Regions from separate parts of the Homo sapiens genome. Here region 2 is linked to region 1. The links are contacts of gene promoters, found by promoter capture Hi-C in human tissues and cell types (Jung and others, 2019). All regions are on one chromosome and are shown on one strand. The core of a region is centred on a gene start or on the middle of the fragment in contact, and the rest is flanking DNA. Distances in the headings are between cores, read along the strand shown. Region 1 holds the start of NFKBIA (NFKB inhibitor alpha). Region 2 holds the start of LOC107984628 (a long non-coding RNA gene).

What was found. Contacts are between HindIII fragments. The study calls those that stand out against the background at their distance.
Region 2: a fragment that was not itself captured here is called in contact with the fragment with the promoter of NFKBIA in region 1 in 1 of the 25 tissues and cell types used here (dorsolateral prefrontal cortex).

Annotation. Positions count from the first base shown.
Region 1 is chr14:35,403,499-35,410,896 of GRCh38, reverse strand. It overlaps NFKBIA (NFKB inhibitor alpha), which reads left to right and starts at 6,148. Exons shown (of 6, transcript NM_020529.3): 1 at 6,148-6,479; 2 at 7,099-7,207. The coding sequence starts at 6,253. RefSeq lists enhancers at 3,650-3,709, 5,687-6,086, 5,291-6,162, 7,267-7,316, 7,347-7,398 and silencers at 6,157-6,326, 6,477-7,066. The HindIII fragment of the contact is 5,540 bases long and covers 3,628-7,398 here.
Region 2 is chr14:34,694,252-34,701,649 of GRCh38, reverse strand. LOC107984628 (a long non-coding RNA gene) reads left to right here and starts at 310. Exons shown (of 3, transcript XR_001750947.2): 1 at 310-1,727; 2 at 7,088-7,339. It also overlaps the pseudogene RPL23AP8. The HindIII fragment of the contact is 4,852 bases long and covers 1,746-6,597 here.

The sequences.
Region 1 (7,398 bases), core at 4,899-7,398:
TATTATGCTTATTTTACACTGTAGCATTTAAAAATTGCTTTGGGGCAGGGTGCAGTGGCTCACACCTGTAATCCCAGCACTTTTGAAAGTGAAGATGGGCGGATCGCTCGGACCCAGGAGCTCAAAACCAGCCTGGGCAACACAGGGAGACCCATCTCTACAAAAAATTAAAAAATTAGCCAGGCACAGCCGGGTGTGGTGGCTCATGCCTGTAATCCCAGCACTTTGGGAGGCCGAGGCAGGCAGATCACTTGAGGTAAACAGTTCGAGACCAGCCTGGTCAACACAGTGAAACCCTGTCTCTACTAAAAATACAAAAAATTAGCTGGGCATGGTGGCAGGCTCCTGTAATCCCTGCTACTTAGGGGGCTGAGGCAGGAGAATCGTCTGAACCTGGTAGGCAGAGGTTGCAGTGAGCCAAGATTGCACCATTGCACTCCAGCCTGGGTGACAAGAATGAAATTCCGTCTCAAAAAAAATTAGCCAGGCACAGTGGCATGTGCCTGTGGTCCCACTGCATGGGAGACTGAGGTGGGAGAATTGCTTGAGCCCAAGAGATTAAGGCTACAGCGAGCTGTGATCATGCCACAGCACTCCAGCCTAGGTGACACAGCAAGACCTTGTCTCAAAAACACAAACAGGCCGGGCATGGTTGCTCACACCTGTAATCCCAGCACTTTGGGAGGCCAAGGCGGGTAGATCACCTGAGGTCAGGAGTTTGAGACCAGCCTAGCCAACATAGTGAAACCCTGTCTCTACCCAAAATACAAAAAATGAGCCGGGCATGGTGGCGGGTGCCTGCAATCCCAGCTACTCAGGAGGCTGAGGCAGGAGAATCACTTGAACCCGGGAGGCAGAGGTTGCAGTGAGCCAAGATCACATCATTGCACTCCAGCCTGGGCAACAAGAGCAAAACTCTTGGTTTGTCTCAAAAACAAACAAACAAAACAAATAAATACTTGGTTTGAGGGAGGAAAAATTCACTTTTCAGAGGTTAGAGCCCCTAATCCTAACCCTGCCTGGCAGGAGCAGCCCTGCGCATCATGGATGGACACACTGTCCCAGTCTCCTGTTACACAGGAGCAGAGAACCCATGATGCCAAGAGCAGAAGGTTGTGCCTCTTGCAAAGCACAATTAAAACATCATACCTTGGCTGAAAAAGAGGTTGTAAACTCAGAGCTTATAGGCTCTGTTTAGCCAATAGATGCAGAAATGCATTGTGTTTAGTTTTCATAATGTTTTTATGTTTGTTTGAGGCAAGGTCTCACTCTTTTGCTGAGGCTGGAGCTCAGTGACACAGTCATGGCCCACTGTAGCCTCAACGTCCCAGGTTCGAGCAATCCTCCCACCTCAGTCTCCCAAGTAGGTGCGACTACAGGTGTATGCCACCACACCTGGTTAATTTTTTTATTTTTATTTTTATAGCGATGGGGTCTCACTATGTTGCCCAGGCTGGTCTCAAACTCCTAAACGCAAGTGATCCTCCTGCCTCACCCTCTCAAAGTGTTGGGATTGCAGGCATGAGCCACGGAGCTGGGCCAATTTTTTTTATTTCTTTAACAATAGAAGGTCACTACTGAACTGAAGGTGCTACATGCCAAAAGTTGTCTGAGCTAAGTATGAGGGAAGTACACACCCTGACCTAAGCTGTTGGAGATCCCACTCCTTTCAGACTCAAATGGTCTGTTTCACTCATCTGTGAAATCTGCCTGCTCCCTATGCGTAAGTATTTTGAGTTTGAGATCCTTTAAAGCTTTGATCTCCATTAAATTGCAGAATTTGTAGCAAAGGAAACACATTAAGGATTTGACGGTCTTATTTTCACTTCACTACAAATGAAGGTTCTGACAGCTGTTTTTCCTTTTTTTTTTTTTTAATTGAGACAGAGTCTCTCTCTGCTGCCCAGGCAGGAGTGCAATGGCACGATCTCAGCTCACTGCAACCTTCACCTCCCAGGGTCAAGTGATTCTCCTGCCTCAGCCTCCCGAGTAGCTGGGATTACAGGCATGTGCCATCACGCCTGGCTAATTTTTGTATTTTGAGTAGAGATGGGGTTTCACCATGTTGGCCGGGCTGGTCTTGAACTCCTGACCTCAGGTGATCAGCTCGCCTCAGCCTCCCAAAGTGCTGGGATTATAGGTCGGAGCCACCGCCCCCAGCCTTGTTTTTCTATGGGAAAAGATCCATAGCTTGGGGGCTCCCTGTTCTGAAGAGGATGCAGACAGTTGCTACCACGATAGCAAGAAAGAAGACAACCTGAGACTGAAAGCAGAATATTTAGAATTTCACAGTGGGGCTGCCAGTTGGGAGTGCACCTGCCTTGCTCTTCAGGAACTCTGTCATGGCTCGTCTTTCTTCCAGCCTAGCTGCACTGAGCAATAGGTAGCCTGATTCCAGAGTTGAATTTGCTGTAGCCAAAACAATTTAGTTTTAATTGGCCAGGCCAGTTGACACAGGCCACCCTGCCCTGAGGATTTTGGACCACCTGGCTGAACTTGTAGACTCTCTCCATGGCACTTCAGGCAATAGGTTTTGTCCATACTGTGCTTGTTCCATGCAGGAGGAGTGCCTGAAGTGCCTGCAGCCAAACCAGGCCCTGGCGATGCTCCTTTTCCCATGGGGGTGCTCCTGGAGCATCACTGGCCGTCCTGTCATTTCCTACGGCTGCGTCCTGGGCCAAAATACAAAGCAGCTTTGAGGTGTAACTTATTATTTTGCCTTATGCATTAAAAAGGCCAAATAACATTAAAAATCAGTTATCTAAAGTATTTTGTTTTGTTTTGTTTTGTTTTTTGAGACAGAGTCTCACCCTGTTGCCCAGGCTGGCGTGCAATGGCGCGATCTCGGCTCACTGCAACCTCTGCCTCCTCGGTTCAAGTGATTCTCCTGCCTCAGCCTCCTAAGCAGCATCTGCACCACCACACCCGACTAATTTTTTGTATCTTTAGTAGAGACGGGGTTTCATCATGTTGGCCAGGCTGGTCTCGAACTCCTGACCTCATGATCCACCTGCCTCAGCCTCCCAAAGTGCTGAGATTATAGGCGTGAGCCACTGCGCACAGCCTACAGTTTTAACATTTTTTTTAACGGTTATGTTAGCTAGAATGTTTGACAATGAGGAGGAGAAAAATCTGAGTGCTGAAGGGTCCATAAAGGTCTTTCTTTTTCTTTTTTTTCTTTTTGAGACAGGGTCTCAGTCTGTTGCTCAAGCTGGAGTGCAGTTGTGCCATCATGGCTCACTACAAACTCCACCTCCCAGGCTCAAGCAATTCTCCCACTTCTGCCTCTGGAGTAGCTGGGACTACAGGCACCTGCCACCACACTCTGCTAATTATATTTTTTGTAGAGACAAGAGTTTAGCCTTGTTGCCCAGGCTGGTCTCCAACTCCTGGGTGGCAAGCAATCCTCCTGCCTCAGCAACCCAAAGTGCTGAAATTACAGCAGTGAGCCACAACTCCTGGCCCATAAAGGTCTTTCTAAATCAAAACCAGACCCTCTTGTTGTCTTCTGCCCAGTCTGCTCATGGTTCTAATTTCCAAGTGTATATTCTTTTTCACCCACGTTGTAATGTTTGTTGACTTAAACCATATAGCGCTATAGATGATGGGGAGAAAACCTGTTGGATCACATTATTCAAAACTGTTTCCCAGAGTCGCAGGAAAACAATAGGTACCTCCTTGGAAATCTCCACTGTAGGGACAAGTCATCAAGGCTCAGCACCTCCCAATTTTTGCAAAAGGCACTATGACAAATCAAGGAACGCCTGTGCCTTACTCTTACCACTAGGTGTCACACAAAACAATCAGGAATAAACACCAAGATCCTGAAGGCTACCAGAAATATAAAACCATAGAAGGTGGTGCAAAAAAACCTTATTCCTCAGATATTTTTATTTTTTATAACCATTTTTATACCTGAAGCCAAATATCTTCTTCTGATGTATCCTCTATAATTGGGACATTTAGAGTTTGATGTTTCTGTACTTGTTTAAAAGAAGTGACTATCCCCAGATGGGGGTCAGGGGACACCCACCCTTTATTTTCCCTAACAGTTGGAGTAGAAAATACTTTTGAGTACATTCCAAATTATAGTGTAGTCAGTCTGATTTTCACAGCGTGTTTTCAAAAGTGTTAATACTAAGACTGCTTTGGCCAAATGATTAATATACTGCCAAGGGGTTCCTGGGTAAATTTCTATGCATTTCAGTTTCTTTTTAGGGAAGTAGGAACAATATCTATCTTACAAGATTAGTTCTGAGAACAATGTGGTACATAAGGCGCTGGAATTCTTTCAAAAATTTATACCCTGACATTTCCAAGAGCCATGGTCACCCTTACAAAGGAGAGTTAGGCATGCATTTGTAGACAAGCAATATGACTTTTAAGCTAGAAAAGACCTTAAGTAACATTCAATCTAATCTTATTATAAAAGTTAAGTATACCACAAAAAAGTTAACTGACCTCTCCAACTAATGTGCAGTCAAGTAAAGATAGAACCTGGAATTGAGATGTCCCATTGCAGTCACTGTTTCACCTTGCCTCAATCATTGTAGATTTGCATATCATAAACCTGCAGAGACAATGGTGTCTATCCCTGGGAAGTTTTCATTGTAACATGTGATCATTATTACCCTGGAGGGTCTATCTGATTTTAATTTTTTTCCCTTCATACTTGGTCTCTCTCTATCGAGTCAGATTTCTTTCATTCTAATATTAGGGGAGGGGTGGAGATACGAAGAGAGGGGAAGGATTGGTTAGTACAAGGCCAGTCAAGGTAAAGATGATTGCAATAATCACCAGAAATCTCTGCAGAACTACAGAGGCCTCCTGGGACTAATTCTGAAGAGCTCTGACCGAAGTTTGCTTTATTTTGCCTGTACCAATTCTACCAAGTAGATGAATTCAGTCCATGGCTTGCAGGCTTGGAGGTGGAGGTGGAGTGGAGAGCATAAATTATATTTCTGCAGGTGAAACCAGAGCATAGTGAGCCGAAACCCCTTTCTACCCAGGTGGCGTGAATGGGTCCAACTGCTACTGTCCCCCAGGACAAGAGAGCAAGGAGGGGCGGGCAGGATGGGACTACCTTGAGCCTCCCGCAGGATGCCTGGCAACTACTTTCTTAGTGGTCCTTAAGGTCCAATCGCGGTTAAGGCACTAACTAAACTCATTCTTCAGCCTCCTTCTCTAAGTTCTCCTCGAATTTGGGTGCCCAGAAGTAGGCTCACGATCCTTTTTCTGCGGGAGCACAATGTAGGTCAGATAGCATAAACGAATAGCTACTTATGAACACAATAGCTACTCTGCTATTGCAAGGTATCCACAACCACCACTACAAACATTAACACCTTGCTTTACTTGGGAAACAAAAAAAATCATGGTCCTATTCAGCAGTTTCCCCATACAGGGAGCGTTTGCCCCTCCCCCAGTCAACAGGGCTGTTCATCCCTAGGAAGTGATTTGAGAGTTCTCCAAGGATTTAGGCTTTTCACTCCTCCAAAGCTTTCACAACTTCTACCTGGCGGGGGTGCGTGGGGGGGTGGGGGCGAAGCTAAAAGTTCCTTTGCTGCAAAGAGCCTGGTATAGGCAGAAACACCGGCGCGGCCTGCAGCCCCCTAACCACAGTGCGTCCTTCCCCTTAGAAGTCTGGGGAAAGCAAATCCCTACGCCCAGCCATCATTTCCACTCTTGCGTTTTCAAAAGATCAAAAAACGGAAAGGACCGGCAGGTTGGCAAACCCCAAAGAGGGACCGCCCATCAGGTCGGCGTCCTTGGGATCTCAGCAGCCGACGACCCCAATTCAAATCGATCGTGGGAAACCCCAGGGAAAGAAGGCTCACTTGCAGAGGGACAGGATTACAGGGTGCAGGCTGCAGGGAAGTACCGGGGGGAGGGGGCCTGGTCGGAAGGACTTTCCAGCCACTCGGCGCTCATCAAAAAGTTCCCTGTCCGTGACCCTAGTGGCTCATCGCAGGGAGTTTCTCCGATGAACCCCAGCTCAGGGTTTAGGCTTCTTTTTCCCCCTAGCAGAGGACGAAGCCAGTTCTCTTTTTCTGGTCTGACTGGCTTGGAAATTCCCCGAGCCTGACCCCGCCCCAGAGAAATCCCCAGCCAGCGTTTATAGGGCGCCGCGGCGGCGCTGCAGAGCCCACAGCAGTCCGTGCCGCCGTCCCGCCCGCCAGCGCCCCAGCGAGGAAGCAGCGCGCAGCCCGCGGCCCAGCGCACCCGCAGCAGCGCCCGCAGCTCGTCCGCGCCATGTTCCAGGCGGCCGAGCGCCCCCAGGAGTGGGCCATGGAGGGCCCCCGCGACGGGCTGAAGAAGGAGCGGCTACTGGACGACCGCCACGACAGCGGCCTGGACTCCATGAAAGACGAGGAGTACGAGCAGATGGTCAAGGAGCTGCAGGAGATCCGCCTCGAGCCGCAGGAGGTGCCGCGCGGCTCGGAGCCCTGGAAGCAGCAGCTCACCGAGGACGGGGACTCGTAAGTGGCGGAGGCCCGGGGCTGGGGGTCGTCGGGAGGGCGGGACGCGCGCGGCCTGGGGGTGGGAGGCGCCGGGCCTGGAGCCCGAGCCGGGGGACCAGCGATGCAGCCGGGCGGGCGCCGCGGCACCCCGGGGCTCCTGCACCGCCCCGAACGCTGCAGGGCTGCAGGGCCGCGCGGGGCACCGGCCCAACTCGGAGGGGCGGCGGCTGGGCCCTGGTGGATGGCAGCGTCGCCACACGCCCCCTCCCCCCAGACCCGTCCTCTAGGCCGGGGGCGGGGCGGCAGCGGGGACGCGAAGTCCCCGGTTGCATAAGGCGGGGCGGGAGTTTCTGGCCGCTGGCGGGCGCCGAGCAGCCGGGAGGGGAAGTACAGGGCGTTCCGAGCTGGCGGGAGGGCGGGGCGGTCTGGCCGGCGCCCGCCGGGGCCGCGGGGGGAGGGGGGCGGAAAGTCCCTGGGCGCCTGCCAGGAACACTCAGCTCATAATAACCTCGCGGAAAACACCGCGGCCTCGGCCTCCAGAAACCCCGGCCTTGCGCAATCCCCCGCAGCCCGCGCCTCCCTGGGCCCCACGCGGTGCACTCACCACCCCTGGGGTTTTTCCCTCTCTTCCCCACAGGTTCCTGCACTTGGCCATCATCCATGAAGAAAAGGCACTGACCATGGAAGTGATCCGCCAGGTGAAGGGAGACCTGGCCTTCCTCAACTTCCAGAACAACCTGCAGCAGGTGCGCCGCTTGCCTGGCCCGGGTTCTCTCTGACCCTGGGACGTAGCTGATGTAGCAGAGTCACCCCAGATCCTTTCTGAATTCAGGGCCACTGAGCACTATTTACCCTCACCTTTTACTTCACATCAGCCCACATCCTAGAGAGTGAAGGAAATTCCACTGATTTGGTGAGGTCTTTATGACCCACCTGG
Region 2 (7,398 bases), core at 2,922-5,421, 710 kb after region 1:
CTGGGCGACAGAGAGAGACTCTGTCTCAAAAAAAGAAAAAAAGAAAAAAGAAAATGACCCTTGGGTTAAAAACACAGCCTAGGCCGGGCGCGGTGGCTCACGCCTGTAATCCCAGCACTTTGGGAGGCCGAGGCAGACAGATCTACTAAAAAATACAAAAAATTAGCTGGGCGTGATGGCGGGTGCCTGTAGTCCCAGCTACTCAGGAGGCTGAGGCAGGAGAATGGGGTGAACCCGGGAGGTGGAGCTTGCAGTGAGCTGAGATCATGCCAGTGCACTCCAGCGTGGGTGACAGAGTGAGACTCCATCTCAAAAAAAAAAAAAAATTATATTCTCATAAGAACATCCTAAAAATGGGCTAACTGATATGATTACTATCATTAAGTAATATGAATGATATTCTTCTGGCTAACTCTCAGAAAATTGTATTTATTTTTATTTCAAAAATAACATGTTTTATAGAGAACCTCTGCAAAATATAGAAAAGAACAAATAAGAAAGCTAAATCATGAGTTAGCTTTAAACACTACAAATTACTTGTGTTAAGCTATTATGACTAATAGGAAGATTCCTGTAGTTAAAACTGGTTTTAAGTTATCAATATATGCTGGTAAGAGGGAAACTTTACTCAAATATTGTTTGTGCAGATTCCTTGGTATTTTTCATCCCAGAAAGAACTGTTGTGGCTCTAGTCACAACAGATTTGAATCTTGAAAATTATGCATTGCACCTACCTAAGTGCTCGCTGCATGACTTAGTGCCATCTACCATTAAGATCTGAAACCACAAAATTTTCTTCTGTTTATTGTGCCATTGGGAATTGATAATAGACATTTTTGTTTTTTGTTACACTGGGAATTGATAATAGACATGATTTTTACTGTTCCCCAAAGGAATTATTTTACAAAATAAATAGTTTCCAATATATCAGGATTCTACTTTTCCCCTTGTATTTGTATGATAAAGTTTAATAGTTGCTAGTTCCTGGTGCACAGTGTAAATAATCCATCCTCTAATCTACTTTGTCCCTTTCATATAAAGATGTAAGATAAAACATAATGTATACATTTTGCACTAAGCCAGAAGCACTCAATCTATATTTGATGAAAAAGTGATATTTACTAATTTGGCTCAAATTATGCAGATCATACATTGACTAATTAGCTCGTGGATATTTAGTCTTCATTTAACTAAGAGAGAGTTTGCATTTTGTTTGCTATTCCAGCAAAGTCTGGTAATCCTTGTGATTAAAGAAACATGATTTATGTTTGCTGTGGAGAAACATGATCATCCTGGCTACTATGAATCACTCTGGAAACATCCCATCTGTTTCCCAATTACTCAGCTCAGACCATTAGATCAAATTCAGTTCAGTTCAACAAACACGAAGCACCTTTCTTAGGCTCAAAAAGCTTTCCATGATATAGGGAAGGCAAGCAAGCACATAAACAAATAATTATGATGTAATACAATGTGATAAATACAACCATATGTTACTACTAGATTTAGAAGAGGGAGTGCTTAACTTTGGAGTTGAAATGGGCTTGGAGAAGGCCTTCCAGAAGTAATGTTTGAGCTGGGTTGTAAAGGATGATAGAGTTCACCAGAAATCTGTATGAAAGGATTGTCCTAGAGAAAAAAAAAAACCGCAGATGCCTTGCAAATGTTTCATTACAGCTGCTATTGAGTCAAGCGTGAGGCACTGTGATGAGAGAAGTGCAGGAGAGGTGGGTATGAGCTAGATCATTGAGGGCATTGGATACCATGTGAAATTTTGTGCTAAGGAGCTGGTGCAGGGTTTTAAGCAAAGGAGTGGTATGATCTTTCTGAAACACAAACCTGATTGTTTTATGACCATGATAAGAATATGTGTAAGGAGAAAGAAATTGGAGGCGATTAAGATGCCTAAATCAAGGCAGTGGCAAATACATTTGGGGTAGGTGGATTTGAGAGGTATGTAGGAGAAATGACAGGACTTGATTAATTTCAAAATTAAATGAAAGAATGCAGAGCTTTAATAATTATTTGGAAAATATTGACTATATTTTTAGTATTGTAGACATTTAGGATCATTTAAGCTTCAGAATTGGCTCAGGAAATTTATAAATGTGGAAAGAAAAATATATTAAAAACATTTTTTTTTTTTTGAGATGGAGTCTCGCTCTTTTGCCCAGGCTGGACTGCAGTGGTGCTATCTCGGCTTACTGCAAGCTCCACCTCCCGGGTTCATGCTATTCTCCTGCCTCAGCCTCCTGAGTAGCTGGGATTACAGGCGCCCGCCACCGCACCCGGCTAATTTTTTGTATTTTTAGTAGAGACGGGGTTTCACCGTGTTAGCCAAGATGGTCTCGATCTCCTGACCTCATGATCCACCCGCCTCGGCCTCCCAAAGTGCTGGGATTACAGGCGTGAGCCACCATGCCCGGCATTAAAAACATTTTTAATGAAGATAACATTTTGATAGCATGAAATAAATCATTGACTAGGAAAATCATGTGTCGTATCTGAATTTAGATTTGTAAGCCGCTTTGCAGCAACATGTAACAATGGTTTCAATAGATAAGAAATTTTTAAAACTACCATAACTATAGCATCTTTGAAATGGAATATCCTATAGTTTAAAAAGTCATGGTTATATTTTCTGTTATTCTATGCTTTTGCTTTTACTGTAAAACTTGTCTGTCCACATATAAGCCATGGCCAAATTCCTCTATCAAATTTTTTTATGCATTTTTAATATCATGGAGATTAATACAGATTCTACATTGAGATGAATACTAAATTTAACTAGCATATTGTCAGCATTTCCCCATCTGGTGGAATTTTCAGAAACTTGATTTTTTTTTTTTTTTTTTTGAGACGGAGTCTTGCTCTGTCACCCAGGCTGGAGTGCAGTGTCCTGCTCTTGGCTCACTGCGACCTCCATCTCCCAGATGCAAGTGATTCTCCTCCCTCAGCCTTCCAAGTAGGTGAGATTACAGGCATCCACCATGATGCCCAGCTAATTTTTGTATTTTTAGTAGAGACGGGGTTTCACCATATTGACCAGGCTGGTCTCGAACTCTGACCTCAAGTAATCCACCTGCCTTGGCCTCCCAAAGTGCTGAGATTACAGGCACAAGCCGCCACACCCAGCCCCTGTATCAAATATTTTAGAAAGAAATTAATTTAGCAATGTTCTTTTATCACACAATCTGCTCGTTAGAGAAAACCTGGCCTACTCTTCGCTGGTGATAGAAAATGGAATTTTCAGGTCATTTAAAAGATCACGTTCTATTAAAGATGATTTTTAATCCTCACTAGTAAATACAAGCTATTTATAAACACAATGTTTACAACACAATGTTTATAAATACACAATTCCTTTCGCAAGTACCATCCAGAATCAAAGATTCCTCTTTTTTACCTCCTTGTAATTAACCATATTGTTTTTTCATCTTGCTTTTATGATAAATAAGTTCACTTTTCTGAGAGGCCTTGCACTCATCAGGAACCATTTATTGAGTGTCTATTTGTAGAACACTGTCCTGGTCATCCTGAGAAATAAACTTCTCAAGGGCACTTTTATAATCCAGTTGCAGAGACAAAATAGACCTGTAAACTAATAAGTATACAGTGATAAGCAATTGAATAAGCAGTAACGGAATGCAAGAAAAAAAACGGATCCAAAAGAGAAAAGATTTTCTAGAAGTGAGTTTTATTTTATTATTTATTTATTTTTTGAAACAGGGTCTTGCTCTGTCACTCAGGCCAGAGTGTAGTTGTGCCATCACAGCTCACTGCAACCTAAAACTGGGATCAAGTGATCCTCCCACCTCAGCCTCCTGAGTAGCTAGGACTATAAGTCCACCACTATGCCTGGCTAATTTTATATTTTATTTTTTTAGAGATGGGGTCTCACTTTGTTGCCCAGGCTGGTCTTGAACTCCTGGGCTCAAGCAATCCTCCTACCTCAGCCTCCCAAAGTGCTGGGATTATAGGCATGAGCCACCGCACCCAGCCTAGAAGTGAGTGTTAAACAGCACTTAGAGGAAATAAATGGCATTTCTCTTCAAATATCGAGTATTTATTTATTTACTTATTTATTTATTGAGACAGAGTCTCACTCTGTCCCCCAGGCTGGAGTGCAGTGGCTACATCTTGGTTCATTGCAAACTCTGTCCCCCAGGTTCAAGCGATTCTCATGCCTCACCGTCCCAAGTAGCTGGGACCACAGGCGTGCACCACCACGCCCAGCTGATTTTTGTATTTTTAGTAGAGACAGAGTTTTGCCATGTTGGCCAGGCTGGTCTTGAACTCCTGGCCTCAAGTGATCCACCCACCTTGGCCTCCCAAAGAGCTGGCATTACAGGCATGAGCCACTGAGCCCAGCCTAGAATTGTTATTTGAAATGTTCCAACAGGCTTTCTTCACTAAGAATCTCCTTAATATCAAGAACAAAAAGGGCCTTTTTATCACCACTTCCATTAAATCATTTGGGAGAAGGCCTAGGGCCAAAGTAAAAACCAACTGGGAGCTCTGTGTTCCACATGGGTATTGTCATGGAGGCATGAGTTTCTACAGGCCTTCCTAACCTTTTTCCAAAGATTCTTTGGGCATCTGGTAAAGACTACGAACTCCTCTTCAGAGTAATGTTTTTGAATAATATACATTTTTTACATTAAAAATAGTGTTGCTTAGTGCAACACTATTCTCCAGCGTTGGTGACAGAGTGAGACCCCTTCTCTTAAAAAATAAATAAGCACTTTTTAAATAGATAAATGAAAAAAAAACTGATTCTCTGCTTATCTTGAAAAAAAAAAGCACCTTTAAACTGATTTATTTTGTCTTAAGCACATTAACATACCATCAAGTTTATAACCCTGGAAATAGAGCTTGGAAATCAGTAGCATACAGTTAAAACCATGGAGCATCAATAAGACGCCCAGCAAAAATTTGTGAGTATCGTAGAAGAAGAGAAACAGTCCAAGAGTGGGCAAAGGAAGAGAAGCCTAGAAAAAGGAAAGAATTGTCAAAGAGGTAGGAGGAGAACATACCTTCTGTGATGTTACAAAGCAGAGGGTGCCAAATGCTGCAGAGATGTCACATATAATGGGGACAAAAAAATAATACACTGAATTTGGCCCTATGAAGGTCAGTGACCTTTCCTGTGGCATTTTCAGCAGGTGAAGGGCAGATACCAAATGGAAATGGCTTGAAGACTGAATAAGAGATGAAGCAGAACAGTGTGGTATAAACCAGTGCTTTTCAAACGTCTATGATGAAGCACATATTTAATTTTCAATCTGTCATAGATTGACAACAGGGTCCTACTGTTCATGACTAGTATGCAGCTTGCACCAGATGCAATGCATCCCTAGAGCTGGGCAACAACCAGATTGGTCTATAGTCTGTTCAACCTGACAAGTCCACTGGTTCCAGGTTTGGATGTCATGGCCAGGTCAAATGGCTGTAAAAGTTTCTAAATGCTTATTGTCAACTCTGTACAGTAGGAGAGGTTTTATTTTAAGAAGTTTATCTGTTGGGTTTCTTTGTTTTGTTTTGAGATGGAGTCTTGTTCTGTCGCCCAGGCTGGAGTGCAGTGGTGCAATCTTGGCTCACTGCAACCTCCGCCTCCCGGGTTCAAGCGATTCTCCTGCCTCAGCCTCCTGGGTAGCTGGGATTACAGGCACGTGCCACCACACCTGGCTAATTTTGTATTTTTAGTAGAGATGGGGTTTCTCCATGTTGGTCAGGCTGGTCTTGAACTCCCGACCTCAGGTGATCCGCCCGCCTCGGCCTCCCGAAGAATTTTTGTATTTTTAGTAGAGATGGGGTTTCACCATGTTGGCCAGGCTGGTCTCGAACTCCTGACCTCAGGTGATCCACCCGCCTCGGCCTCCCAAAGTCCTGGGATTGAAGGCATGAGCCACCGCGCCCCGCCAATAAGCTTATCTGTTAGGGAAGAGAGAGCAACAGGTACTCTCCAGGGCCTTGGAAGGAAGAGAGGTTTCTTTTTTCTTTTCTTTTCTTTTTTTTTTTTTTTTGAGATGGTGTTTTGCTCTGTCGCCCAGGCTGGAATGCAGTGGCACAATCTCGGCTCACTGAAACCTCCACCTCCTGTATTAAAGTAATTCTCCTGCTTCAGCCTCACAAGTAGCTGGGACTACAGGTGTGCACCACTATGCCCGGCTAATTTTTGTATTTTTAGTAGAGCTGGGGTTTCTTTCTTTTTTTCTTTTTGAGACAGTTTCACTTTTGTTGCCCAGACTGGAGTGCAATGGCATAATCTTGGCTCACTGCAACCTCCGCCTCCTGGGTTCAAGCGATTCTCCTGCCTCAGCCTCCCGAGCAGCTGGGATTACAGGCGCCTGCCAACACGCCTGGCTAATTTGTTGTATTTTTAGTAGAGATGGGGATTTCACCATGTTGGCCAGGTTGGTCTCGAACTCCTGACCTCAGGTGATCCACCCACCTCGGCCTCTCAAAGTGCTGGGATTACAGGCATGAGCCACTGTGCCCAGCTTTGAGACAGTGTTTCACCATGTTGGCAAGACTGGTCTTGAACTCCTGACCTCAAGTGATCCTCCCACCTTGGCCTCCCAAAGTGCTGGGATTACAGGCATGAGCCACCACGCCAGGTGACTACTTTCTCTGCGTATCTCCTAATGTTCTTCATGCTTTGCATTCTTTTCAACCCTTAATTTGGATCTCCAGCACCTAAAATAGTTTTTGGTACATAGAAGGCATTCAAATTAAAAGGTTTTTGAAGAAATGAATGAACTTTCATGTGAACGGTGGAGGAAGACGTCCTGTTTCTAGATTTTACAGTAGAAAATCCTGCCTTACTTAGCCTCTTTATTTTGCCTCTAGGCAGAGATTTCTCAGGGAGAAATCATCTGGGAGGCCCATCATCTTTTCATAGTCTTTGAGTGCATTAAAGTGTTCCCCTCTGTTTTCAAAAAAAAAATTTTTTTTATGGTGAAAAGATACACGTATATTTAGAACTAGCCAGCTGGACTCAATTTAGATGATACCAATTTTTTGGCAACATCCAAAACATCGTAATCAGGAGCCAGTCAAACATATGCCTTCTTCTCTCCACCAGGCCGAATCAGGGTGTTGACCTTGGCCGCATCAATGTCACAGAGCTTCTTCACAGCCTGTTTGATCTGCTGCTTGTTGGCTTTAACATCCACCGTGAACACAAGTGTGGTGTTGTCTTCTATCTTCTTCATGGCGGACTCAGTGGTCCACAGAAACTTGATGATGGCATAACGGTCAAGCTTGTTTCTCCTGGGGGCGCTATTCCGAGGATATTTGGGTGGCCTCGAGTCGCAGTGTCCTGGGCCTCCGGAAGGTGGGTGACGTGCGGGTCTTCTTTTTTTGTGTGGATGTGGACATCTTTCAACACTGCCG